Regions from separate parts of the Homo sapiens genome. Here region 1 is linked to region 2. Evidence: promoter capture Hi-C in 16 types of primary human blood cells and fetal thymus (Javierre and others, 2016). All regions are on one chromosome and are shown on one strand. Each heading gives the region's core, a stretch centred on a gene start or on the middle of the fragment in contact. The rest is flanking DNA. Distances are from core to core; before and after follow the strand shown. Region 1 holds the start of ATG3 (autophagy related 3). Region 2 holds the start of ZBTB11-AS1 (ZBTB11 antisense RNA 1).

The links. The method cuts DNA at HindIII sites, captures the fragments that hold promoters and counts their contacts. A CHiCAGO score of 5 or more calls a contact.
Region 1: the fragment with the promoter of ATG3 here is called in contact with the fragment with the promoter of ZBTB11-AS1 in region 2 in 1 of 17 cell types (total CD8 T cells); the score reaches 8.0 in total CD8 T cells.

Annotation. Positions count from the first base shown.
Region 1 is chr3:112,558,286-112,565,196 of GRCh38, forward strand. ATG3 (autophagy related 3) reads right to left here and starts at 3,677. Exons shown (of 12, transcript NM_022488.5): 1 at 3,172-3,677; 2 at 91-132. The coding sequence starts at 3,243. SLC35A5 (solute carrier family 35 member A5) reads left to right here and starts at 3,760. Exons shown (of 7, transcript NM_017945.5): 1 at 3,760-3,988; 2 at 5,100-5,248. The coding sequence starts at 5,119. RefSeq lists enhancers at 2,439-3,248, 3,249-4,058, 5,679-6,488, 6,489-6,911. The HindIII fragment of the contact is 1,809 bases long and covers 2,597-4,405 here.
Region 2 is chr3:101,671,682-101,678,023 of GRCh38, forward strand. ZBTB11-AS1 (ZBTB11 antisense RNA 1) reads left to right here and starts at 4,749. Exons shown (of 1, transcript NR_024407.1): 1 at 4,749-6,342. ZBTB11 (zinc finger and BTB domain containing 11) reads right to left here and starts at 5,451. Exons shown (of 11, transcript NM_014415.4): 1 at 4,924-5,451; 2 at 297-532. The coding sequence starts at 5,233. It overlaps LOC124906262 (endogenous retrovirus group K member 5 Gag polyprotein), which reads left to right and starts at 4,764. Exons shown (of 3, transcript XM_047449415.1): 1 at 4,764-6,342. RefSeq lists enhancers at 2,195-2,695, 4,589-5,143 and a silencer at 4,503-4,872. The HindIII fragment of the contact is 10,842 bases long and covers 3,466-6,342 here.

The sequences.
Region 1 (6,911 bases), core at 2,427-4,926, about 11 Mb after region 2:
AGTTCAAGATGTTTTCTTATGAAGCAGAAAAGCCACCTAGTTTAGTATTATTGTAAAATAAAAAGACTTCAGTATATCTTCAGCACTCACCTCTTCTGGGGTAATTACACCTGTTTCCTTAAACTTTGATTCCTAAAAAAAGCAGAAAGAAAAACAATATTATATCATGTTTCACTATCAATTAAATATATTTTGGGGGCAATTATTTGCCTGGTGCCCTTCTAGGCAATAGAGCACATACAAAAAAAAATTAGTCTATCTATCTAATCTATAATCTATCTAATCTACCTATCTACCTACCTCATTGGTATCTATCTATATCTATCTATCTGTTTCACTCACTGGTAATGACCACAGGAATATACAAGTCTAATGTAGGAAACAGACATGAAAATAATTATAATACTATCAGATCAGTGCTATAATAGAGTAAAGCTCTATGTAGAAACATTCTTTTTTTTTTTTTTTAAGATGGAGTTTCACTCCTGTTGCCCAGGCTGGAGTGCAGTGGCGCCATCTTGGCTCACGGCAACCTCCACCTCCCGGGTTCAAGCGATTCTCCTGCCTCAGCCTCCTGCCTGTAGCTGGGATTACAGGCATGTGCCACCATGCCCGGCTAATTTTTGCATTTTTAGTAGAGACAGGGTTTCTCCATGTTTGTCAGGCTGGTCTCGAACTCCTGACCTCAGGTGATCCACCCGCCTCGGCCTCCCAATGTGCTGGGATTACAGGCGTGAGCCACTGCGCCCGGCCAAGCTCTATGTACAAACATTCTAAGATTTAAATAAAAATAAAGCCTTACAGTGATTCTGTGAAATGAACAAATACCTTTATTTTACAGCACAGCAAAAATGTCTTAAAGATGTTTAGACATCTTACAATTCAGCCAGTCTTATTTAAACTGAATAATGTTAGAAACCAAATCTAGAAATTATTTAGCATTTTCCTCTAATTCTCATCTCCACCAAGATACTGACACACTATTCTCTAAATTTTTCTAAACTTTAAGTTATATGTAAGATTTTCTGGTAGAGTCTACAAAAATGAAAACACTCATTTATAAACATTATTCATTCAACAAATGTTTACTATGTGCCAGACACTATTTGAGGCAGTGGGGATATTTGGGGGTGAATAACATAAATACAAATTTATTCTTGCCCTCATAAGGAGTTTCAACTCCAGTTGAGGAAGAAAAGCCAAATGGTAATGAATAACATACCATAAAGAAAAATGAAGCTGAGAGGAATCTGTGGGGTGGCTGGGGAGAGATGGCCATTTAAAATAGAATGGTAAGAGAACAAAGACTTCACTGAATAATGACTTAAAAACCTTAAGGAAAGGAACATGCCATAAGGCTGTTAAGTGCGAAGCGCGTTTCAGATAGAGGGAAGAGCACATGCAAAACCCCAAACCAAGAGTGTGCTTAACAGAATAATAAAGAGATCAGGTTAGCTTAAGCAACAGCAGTCAGGGGATGGAGCAGATGAGATTGGGGCCTCTACCAATTAAGCAGAACCTTAGAGATGATTGTAAGAACTTCAGTGTTTACTGCATGTACATACTCCAAACAAAACATGATTTTTCTTAATTTTTACTTGCTAGGAGAAGGCTATTACTTATTTCCTGAGGATTTTGTTCTTTCTCCTTGCCCTCCCTAAGCAGGAAACTGTAAGGATTCTCTCTGTAAACAACAGTTTGCACAGGAGTATCAAGGAGACGGTCATTCATTCTTTCCTTTTTACTAAAGACATATACCATACATACTGACATGCCAACAGTTCCTTTTCAGTTTGGTGAGCAAGTATGATGGACTCCTGAAAACATAATTCTACATCATACATTTTATATTTCATTTGGGCAGTCTCTTGCTCCTCTCTCCCGGAAACTAAAAAGTTGTACAATGGTGTATTATTAAAATACTGTATACCTAGGTAGATATGATATTCTGAAAAGTTAACATAATTATGTAAAAGCATTTGATTCAAATGTGAAAATTATTTTCCAATCTTAGTTTGACTGAATAATCTTAAAATGACTTTCACAGTAAACAAATGTAAGCAAAGCAACAGTTGAAATTCTCATTTATAATCGCTGGTTTATTTCTTACTTGGCCAATAAGTTATTCTTTTAAAAGGAGCTTTACAAAAACGTATTTTAAAAAGTATAGACCTAGTACTTCCCTTTGTCATGGAAAGGGAGCAAAGCAAAACTCTCCACTATTCTTAGCATATTAAGGTATTTCACCCCCACACTGAGATTGGTACATTCTAACTGAAAGCTTAAAAACAACTAGAAAAAAAAAACAAAAACTAAGCAAGAACTTCCCATTAATTTACTATTCTTGCTCACTTTTCAGAAAGCAAAAATGAAGTTACAACAAAACACTCCAAAAGAGTTATAAAAGAAAAGCTTGAAGGCAGTTGTAGAAATTTACCTTTAAAAAAAAAATCAGTCACTACTGTAACAGCTAATGTGTCACAATTTTTTACTTTAAAAATGCTGTACTGTTGCCAATATATTTTTAAAAATTATACAGCCAGGAAGGTCAAACCGTGCCTTGTTATCACTAATAACCAGCTACGGCTATCTGAAAAGCTTGGGAAAAAGGTTTTGCTCGTTAGATGGGTTCAAGGTTACTGAATGAGATAATGTTGCCAATTTCACCTCCTTCCTCTGAAATCTAAACGAGTTGGGATCGCAGTCACAACTTCCCCACTACAGCGGACTTTCATGAAACTTAAAGGAAAAGTGACCTCACCTCAGGTCTCTTTTGACCTCTGTGTGTCAAACACTAAATTCATTTTTTAAAGAGAAGCAAAATCCTTGCTTAAAAAGGCTAAAAGACTTCCAGTGTTTGGATTTAACGTTCTTCAATCTACTCAGCCTCCGAACACCCTTCCAACCCGACGTACCCGACCGCGCAGAGTTATGACGGGAGAAGGCAGGAACACGCAGAGCGTCGCTCCAAGTTTACCCCTGAGGAGTCAGAAAGCCCTAACGAACAGCCGGTTAAGACTACGGGTGGGGGCTGCACACTTCCCTGTGTCTCGAGCCCTACTGCCTTCCTACACCTTGCCCCGCCGGAGAAAGCGGGGACTCCTGCGGCGCCTGGTCCCTGAAAAGTCGAGCATGTGCCTGACAGCTCCCGGCAACCCTGGCCTGGCTTACCTTGAGGACCGGGGTCAGGTACTCAGCCACTTCCAGTGCCTTTCCCTTCACAGTATTAATCACATTCTGCATCCTGGGGCCGGAGTAGCGGCCGGCCCCGCGACGGGATGGAAAGTGCAGCCGTGTCAGGGGCCAGGGAGTCAGAAAATGTCCTCGCTGCCACCGACTCGCATCAGCACCCGGCTGGCAGCACCCGAGGGGACGGGACGCGACGCGACGGGACGGGCGGGACGAGGGGGCGGGGCGGCAGGCACAGCGCGCGAAGACGGGGTGCGCGATCCTCGCACCCCAGGCAGCCCGCGACGGACCGGACCCAGCTGTCACCCAGCCGCGAGGGAGGGCAGCGGGGCCGAAGGGAGACCTGAGGTGAGAAGCGGACGCACACGCACCCCTCGCCCTCTGCGAGCTGTCTGTCCTCGCTTTGCTTCACTCGCGCCCCTTCCGGCTTCCCTTCCTTCTCACTCTCTTGCCGTAGCTGCGCCGCCACCGGGGCCTCACGTGACACTAGACTCTCCCGGCACGTGACGTGAGAAAGGGGCCGGGCTGGGGCGGGATAAGCCGCTTCTCCCCTCCTTCCGGAAGCGTAACACTGAACGTGCCTGCGCAATGGGTGTCGGGTCCGCTTTTTCCCAATCCGGACGTAATCGTGGTTTTTGTTCTGCAATAGGCGGCTTAGAGGGAGGGGCTTTTTCGCCTATACCTACTGTAGCTTCTCCACGTATGGACCCTAAAGGCTACTGCTGCTACTACGGGGCTAGACAGTTACTGTCTCAGCTCTAGGATGTGCGTTCTTCCACTAGAAGCTCTTCTGAGGGAGGTAACCGCGCCCCGCGGGCAAGGAATTGCGCCTGCGTCTGAGGGGAGGGTGCGCCAGTGAAGAGCCCTACTGCGCATGTGTGACTAGAAGGGTAGTCCCTGACTGTGAAGGGAAATCTGGCCCCCTCCTGTCGGGGAGGCGTCCTGTAGGCGTGCGCCCAATGGGGCTGTCAGTATTGGCATTTCTCCCCACTCCCCGCAGGCTCTATGCGCTATTCCTACAGTACGCTGGGAGGCTTTGGGCAAGTTACTTACCCAACCTGGGGTTTAGTGTCCTCAGCCTATCAAAAGAGGGCCTTAGATTCATTGATTTCTACGATCTCCTCCATTTCAAACACTAACTAGTTCAGTAAAACTTTACAGCAGTGTTTCAGATATTTCCATTTTGGTCGTTATTGTAATGAAGTCTGTCCTAATAAGCTTTTTCCTCCGAGGGAAAAGAGGAGGAAAATACAATTCTGAAAGCCTTATCTTACAGCAAAATTATTTACTAATAAGAGTAAAAGCGAGGCCGGGCGCGGTGGCTCACGCCTGTAATCCCAGCACTTTGGGAGGCAGAGGCGGGCGGATCACAGTCAGGAGTTCGAGACCAGCCTGGCCAACATAGTGAAACCCCGTCTCTACTAAAAATACAAAAATTAGCCGGGCGTGGTGGCGGGCGCTTGTAGTCCCAGCTATTCTGGAGGCTGACGCAGGAGAATCGCTTGAGTCCGGTAGGTAGGGGTTGCAGTGAGCCAAGACCGCGCCGTTGCACTCCAGCCTGGGTGACAGAGCGAGACTCCGTCTCAAAATACATAAATAAATAAAATTTAAAAATAAAATTCAAAATTGCTTTGAAGAATTCTTTTCTGCTGTTGCAAAGTGTCATTTGCTCACCTGCTACCTTTGTCAGCAGGTCTAATCTGGTTCTACGTTTTCTGTCTCCAGAGTACTCCCTCTTATCAGATTTTCACTTTCCTTTTGTCATAGTTTCTTTATGCCTCAACTTTCTTGGTGCTGATATAGTCATAGCCAAAATTTTTTAAAAATTCCTTTTTTGTCCTCACGATCAATGGTATTTGCGTTTAGGGTCTGCCAACAAGGTCGTTCATGAAAGTGTTTTTCTCTTTAAGGTAATTAAAAAACAGTGGAATGGAAAAACAGTGCTGTAGTCATCCTGTAATATGCTCCTTGTCAACAATGTATACATTCCTGCTAGGTGCCATATTCATTGCTTTAAGCTCAAGTCGCATCTTACTAGTGAAGTATTCTGCCAATGAAGGTAAGTTAAGACTTGGTATATGCATGGAGCACTTCCATCTAATCACACATCTCTCTCTTGCCTTTGGTTCTGTTATATATAACATGGAAATAATAATGCCTTTTGCTTCATGTGAGTGATAAAGCATATTTAAATTTGATTATTTAACCTTGCATTCCTCAACAAGAAAAAATGTTTGATAATGGATGAAATGTGAGTCAATCAGATACAAAAATCAAACCCTTTGGTGAAGAACCAGTCGTAACATTTGACTGTTAATTCAATCAACAGGTGTTTCTGGACCTATAGCAAAATGTGTAATTGCGCCTTATTTTGAAGTAGAAGGATATATTTGTTTGGTCACTTGGCATTTGTGAGGTACTTACTATTGTAATTATTGTATCAATGGTAAGGTGTCAGCATTATATTGTGCGGTCATATTGTATCAACAGTATAAATTATAAGCTTTGATAAGTATGTATTTAAGAAATCTTTTTTTATGTAGGGATTTAAGCAAACACTTTAATTCCACAAAACTGTATTGAGTACTTCTTACTAGTTATTGAGTGAAGGGGTGGGTTGCCCCTCCACATCTGTGGGTGTTTCTCGTTAGGTGGAACGAGAGACTTGGAAAAGAAAGGGACATAGACAAAGTATAGAGAAAGAAAAAAGGGGGCCCAGGGGACCGGCGCTCAGCACACGGAGGATCTCTGCCAGCCTCTGAGTTCCATTAGTATTTATTGATCATTATTGGGTGTTTCTCGGAGAGTGGGATGTGGCAGGATCATAGGATAGTAGTGGAGAGAGGGTCAACAGGTAAACACGTGAACAAAGGTCTCTGCATCATAAACAAGGTAAAGAATTAAGTGCTTTGCTTTAGATATGTATACACATAAACATTTCAATGCCTTAAAGAGCAGTATTGTTGCCCGCATGTCCCACCTCCAGCCCTAAGGCGGTTTTCCCCTATCTCAGTAGATGGAATATACAATCGGGTTTTACTCCGAGACATTCCATTGCCCAGGGACGAGCAGGAGACAGATGCCTTCCTCTTGTCTCAACTGCAAAGAGGCGTTCCTTCCTCTTTTACTAATCCTCCTCAGCACAGACCCTTTACAGGTGTCGGGCTGGGGGACGGTCAGGTCTTTCCCTTCCCACGAGGCCATATTTCAGACTATCACATGGGGAGAAACCTTGGACAATACCTGGCTTTCCTAGGCAGAGGTCGCTGCGGCTTTCCACAGTGTTTTGTGTCCCTGCGTACTTGAGATTAGGGAGTGGTGATGACTCTTAACGAGCATGCTGCCTTCAAGCATTTGTTTAACAAAGCACATCTTGCACAGCCCTTAATCCATTTAACCCTGAGTTGACACAGCACCTGTTTCAGGGAGCACAGGGTTGGGGGTAAGGTTACAGATTGCAGAACAAAATGGAGTCTCCTATGTCTACTTCTTTCTACACAGACACAGTAACAATCTGATCTCTCTTTTCCCCACAATTGAGGACACATACAATCATGATATGACCTTTAATGGTCTACTACTTGGAGAGTCAGATGTGTACCCAAGTCTCTACTGCAGTTAACATTTACCTGCCAGGCACTAGGCTAAGTATTAGCAGCAGGTTCAAAGTGCATAAGATATAGACCTTGTCCTCAAGACTTAGTTTATTAGGAGAGACATGA
Region 2 (6,342 bases), core at 3,499-5,998:
TCAGAGACTGCTTCCAGAAATGTAAATCTGTCTACTTGTACCAATATATCATCACAAAAGAAGGGAGGGAGGATAATTAACAACAAACCAACAGGTAATTATTAAGTTCATTCTGAAAAAATAACAGGAACATTTATGATAAATGAAGAGGCAGTTCAGCTTATATAACACAGTACACTGCCATTTTGTCTTATTCAATAAGCAGTCTTAGTGGTTTGAGAAAAATAAGTCACCAAGGCTGCAAATACTAGTACACTAGTTACAAATCTTAAAGCTGACTGGAGAGTACCACTTACAAACACAAGTTCATGTTTGGATACTGGCTTCTTTTTTGCAGGCTTGGATGCTGTAGTTGGAGATGAAGTAAAGTTGCTCAGGTCATCTTCCGATTCATTACTTTCTTCTCCAGATTCAAGGTCTAGTCCCAATTCTTCCAACATTTCTGAAACATCTGATATTGGACGGGATCGATCTAGTTTCTCCTGGCATTTGCTACACTGTTTAATGTAATCTTTGACTTGCTTCAATATACCTACAATGAAAATATTAACAAGTCAAATTTAATACTGTTAACTGAAAACAGAATATATTATTTAGTCTGTGCACATTAACACATTTCAGTACATATGTGCAGACATTCATGTCCCATAAAATATGTAGAGTTTATTAGAATGTAAAATATACTTTTTTCCCAAAAAATATAAAGTTATAAATGATGTTCTCCTGCTGAGGTAATTTTTTTTATTTATTCCCAGTTATTTGTTTCTCTAATCATAAGATGACTATATAGCTCCACCCATTTTCATGTGAGTTGCAATGTTTTCATGCAAGAGGAACTATATGAAACTGCCAATATTCACCTTTTTTTGACCTACACAAATTAACAATTTAGGGCATGATGGCGCACGCCTGTAATCCCAGCTACTCTGGAGGCTGAGGCCGGAGACTCACTAATAACCCGGGAGGCGGAGGTTGCAGTGAGCTGAGATTGTGCCACTGCACTCCAGCCTGGGCAACAGACCAAGACTCTGTCTCAAAACAAAACCAAACAAATTAACAATTTAATATGGCTCAAGCTAATACTTCTCCACCCCAGTGACATTAGGCTTGACCGTGTGATTTGATTTGCACACATGTGATGTGTACCATATCTGAACAGAACCTTAAGAGGTACTGAGTATTTTGCACCAGTTCTCTGATCTTTGTCCCCTCTCACAAAGAACAGCAATGTCCCAGAGGGATGTTGTTCTTAAACCTGAATTTCAGATGAAAAAAGCTGAAACCAATCTGTAGCCTGGAACAGGACTACTACAAAACTTGTAATGAAAGTTTAAAATAAATCTTTTGTTTTTGAAAGTTATGAGATTTTAGGGTTGTGTGAAATAAAAGCATACACAATCTAACAAAAGTTGATTATATACAAGCCACTCACAAAAGATTTTGAATTTCAACTTCCAGCTCCCAGCATGCTAGGGTAGGGGTGAGGAGGCAGGGACAAGGCTTTATGTATATGTACACACATCCCACTATCATCCTTGTAAGAGAACAATTAATTCCCATTCTATACAAGAGGAAAATAAAGCCCTAAGAGGTATGTAGCTTGTCCAAAGTCACATCTAGTAAAATGGCAGAGCTAGGCCTCCAGAAGTCATGGGATTTTCGGTATATTATTCTACTTACACAAGAGCACGCTTGTCCATTCCTAGGGCAGAAAGTTACCCCCAAATCTTCAAATAAGTACAAATGAAAAGGTTATGAGGTAAAATGATAGAGGTATGGTATAGAGAATATTCCTGAAAAGTGTTTTAAAATGTCGAATTATACAAAGCTCCTTACACTTTTTTTTTTTTGAAATGGAGTCTCTCTCTGTTGCCCAGGCTGGAGTGCAGTGGTGGGATCCCGGCTCACTGCAACCTCCGCCTCCTGGGTTCAAGTGATACTCCCACCTCAGCCTCCCGAGTAGCTGGGATTACAGGCGCCCGCCACCACACCTGGCTAATTTTTTGTATTTTTAGTAGAGATGGGGTTTCACTATTTTTGCCAGGCTGGTCTCAAACTCCTGACCTCAAGTGATCTGCCCGCCTTGGCCTCCCAAAGTGCTGGGATGACGGGCATGAGCCACCTTGCCTGGCCACCAAGTTCCTTATACTTTCAATCTTCAAATAGTATTCAAGCAATATTTTCCAAATTGTATTATGTCCCACACTGATTATAAAAGTATACACTGAAGTCATAAATTCAGAAAAATTTTAGCTATATGCAATTGACATTTATTATTAGAACCTCTGACTTCTACGGTGAAGAAACCTGTTTAACCTAGGAATTTGTCAAATTTATGGATTCACAGAGACTGTTTTTTTTTTTTTTTGCAGAACATAAACAATGGGGCTTGGGGCGTGGCTCACACACTTTGGGAGGCTGAGGTGGGCGGATCATTTGAGGTAAGAAGTTCGAGACAAGCCTGGCCAACAGAGCAAAACAAAAATTAGCTAGGTGTGGAGGCACGCGCCTGTAGTCCCAGCTACTCCGGAGGCTGAGGCACCAGAATCACGTGAGCCTGGGAGGCGAAGGCTGCAGTGAGCCGAGATCGCGCCACTGTGCTCCGGCCTGGGTGACAGAACAAGACTCTGTCTCAAAGAAAAAAAGAGAAGAAAAGAAAGAAAGGAACAATGGGTTCGAGTTAAATATAACTTTATCAAAAAAGCATTTATATGAGTGTAGATTTAGAGACCAAAAGAGGTTGTATTGGCCGGGCGCTGTGGCTTACACCCGTAATCCCAGCGCTTTGGGAGGTCGAGGTGAGCAGATCATCTGAGCTCAGGAGTTCGAGCCCAGCCTGGCCAACATGGTGAAACCCCGTCGCTACTAAAAATAGAAAAATTAGCTGGGCGTGGTGTAATCCCAGCTACTCTGGAGACTGAGGCACCAGAATCGCTTGAACCCGGGAGGTGGAGTTGCAGTGAGCCGATATCGCGCCACTGCACTCCAGCCTGGGCAACAGAGTGACTCTGTCTCAATAAATAAATAAATAAAATAAATAAATAAATAAATAAACATCGTCTCAGGTTTTTGCCTTTTAAGACACTGCACACTAAAAATTAAAAAAAAAACAACTGGATTAGAATCACTCACAGATAATGAACTTAGAAAAAGAAAAATTCTGAACACAAAATACCACATAACACTGGGTTAAGAAAAGTGTGAGATCACAAAGGTCAGCTGTGTGACTTTTGTTGTGTTATTTAACATCCTAGTGCTTTTAGTTTTTTCATCTGTAAAACAGATAGAGGCTGAAAAGGGAGGATCATCTGAGCCTAGGAGGTCGAGGCTACAGTGAGCTGTGATCGTTGTCACTGCACCAAGCAAGACCCCCTACGCTCTGTCTCCAAAAAAGGGAGATAAGTATTAAGGTTTTATGAAGGTTAAATAAATGTCAAGGGCTAACGACTACATCCTGCATATACAAGCTTGATCAATGTTACCTATAGTTACAATTATCATCTTTAACAAATCCTGAAGTATTAAATCTGAGACATTTGTTCAACAAACTAATGTCTACCCAAACCCATCCAAACAAAATGCACTGATTACTTCATTACCTCATAATTTAATCTTCGCATTTGTCTGTCCTTACAGGAATTTAATTCAGATATTGGTTTAAAGTGGAAAATAAATGGAAGAATTTGATTATCCAATAGTTCGTAAACGAATAAACTTGATGATGTTTATAAACCGAAAAGAACTTTAGAAACTATTCAGTAATTTCGTTATTCACAGACGAAGTAACCAAGATTTGAATGAAATAACTTTTCTGTAGCCATATTGGAGAGTGACAGCACTGTTCCTAACAAAATTTCTTAAATGGGACTATAAACTATTAACTAATTCTGACAGTTTGAATATTCATTAACTGTGGAGAGTGAAGATGGTTAAGAAGCCAAGGACACTTGCTATCCTCCCTTACAACTGGTTCCCAAGGAGTCAAGTAACTTCAGAGCTGTATTTTTTGACAATCAAAAAGTCACAGTAATCGTACCTTTTCTGCGTATATACAATGCTACACAGTTCCCAAACGCGTTTTTCACATCATTAGGGGAAAGATTATTAAAACATTCAGAGTTACGAATATCAAGCTGGGCGCCGTGGCTCATGCCTGAAATCCCAACACTTTGGGAGGCCGAGGCGGGAGGATGGCTTGAGGCCAGATGGAGACCAGCTTGGGGAACGAGGCGAGACCCGTGTCTACTCAAACACCCCGCCCCCGCAAAACCAAACAACAAAAACAGTAACTGATATCTTTTACATTTACTTCTTGTTCTTAAAAAAAAACGCTCAAGGCGATTTCTCAATCACTCCTTATCACTTCTGCAAATAATTGTATTATTCCTTATTTACGCAGCAGCGGCAAAATTTGAGGAACACTAGCGAATGTGTCCAGAGCAGCTCATACTCGCTCGCCAAAACCCAAGCGCAGCACTAAAGAAACGGGAGACCCGGCTTCGGGTGACTCGTCCCCCCTTCCAAACGTCAGCACAGTCGAAAACGTGCACCCCGCAGCCTCCACTGCCGCGAGCCACACGCCACCTCCAGAGGGCCGGGGCCTACAGCCTCAAGGGGCCGCCCAAGGAGGCGGACCTGGCGCAGCCCAGGCGTCCGGCCCCTCCCCGCGGCTGGCCCGGCCTCCGGGGAAGCCCCCTTGGTCCCACCCAGGGCCAGGGCCCGCCCCCAGCTTCGCCGGCCTCCTTCCTGTGGGAAGTGCGGCTCCTTTCGCGTCCCCCACCCTCTCGGCTCCGCCTGGCAGCAGCTCCGCCGCCCAGAGGCGTCCGAGACCCTCCGACTCGTGGGTACGCATAGGCCTCGCCAGCGAGCCTTGCCCAGGCAACGAGTCGCCAGCCCGCCCCCTCGCCGCGGGCTAGGTCTCACCTCGCCACCAGTACGTCTTGGACAAGTAGTGCCAGGTCTGATGCCGGGTGTGGTGAGTGCCGCCGGGACCCAGGTGCGCCGCCTCGATGAGGTCCCGGCGTCGCTCCGGCTGCAGCACCACCTCCAGCTCCGCGAAGGTCTTGCGGTGCCGCTGCCGCCGCTGGTAATACAGAGTCCCGCCGCGCACCACGTAGCAGGCGGCAGCTTTTCGGATTTTACGCTTGACATTGCCCTCGGTGCCCGGCGCATACGGCTCGCGCTCGTTCGTCAGGTAACGCAGGATGGCCCGGTAGCTTTCCTCGCTTGACATCGCGGACCGCGGCTCCCTGAGGGCGCCTGTCAGGGACAGGTGAGGAAAACGGCCCGCTACCTACGGGCGGCTGCAGGAGGAGCGGCGGCACCGTAGGGAGAAACGGCTGCGCCTTTGGCGAGCGCTCTTCGACGGCTCCCTTAGTCCGAAGGAAAAGCGGGCGAGTTGGTAACCAGGGGGAACTGCACTTCTCCAGCGCGCGGGATCCGCTGGCGACTGACAAAATGGCTGCTGCACCACCGGAAGTGACGCAAGGCAAGGGCGGGGACTGAGCCCTGATTGGAGCGCACTCTCGTTTTCTGGCTTGATGGAGCCGATCCAGTGACGTCAGGAATGCGGGTGGACATTTTGGAAGCGGGTAGGACCCTTCACTGCAGTTCGAGGGAGTCTTTAAGCAGACATCTTAAGTCCTGGCAGTTTCTCTTTTCATTTTTCCCTTTTCCACGCTTTCTAAGGAGCCACGTGTAGGGGGAGCTGGTGGACAGTTGAGAGTTCAGCCGAAACATCCAGAGGGTTAGGAGTCCGTTTTTACGTTTGAGACTCCCAACATCATAAAAGCATATTTTCAGGCTTCTGGAAAAATATTAGTCTCTTGACACGGGACCAGAGACAGCCCATTTACATGGAAATTTAGATTCCAGTTAACAGTTATAAAATTTTCAGTGCCTCCCTCAGTGATGAGTTATTGTTTCTAAACTTGCACCTGCTAGCTCCAGACTACTCAAGGAAGAGTCGAGATTCTTTTGGAATTATCAGCATTTATAGTCAATGTTATTGCGAGTGGAAAAGGGGGTCGGTAACACTATTTTAAGGCTTTATTTACATATATTTTTACACAAACGTAGGGGAAAAGGTTCTCCATTTTGCACCAAATATATATGAGGGTGCAAGAAGGGGAGCGGACTTGAGCTGCGTCTCCCAGTGCGTGCTGAGGATGCTAATACAGGTATTTAGCTGGTAATCCCGGAGCAGCGACCCCGGTCACCCTTTCCTGGGACGAATCTGCAGCGCTCACAGGGGCCCAGGGCTGACATCCCTCCTCGGGGACTGGGGTTGGACACTGTCGCCGCTTTGCTAAAGCCAGAACATTTCAGGCCGAGGGCTCCAGC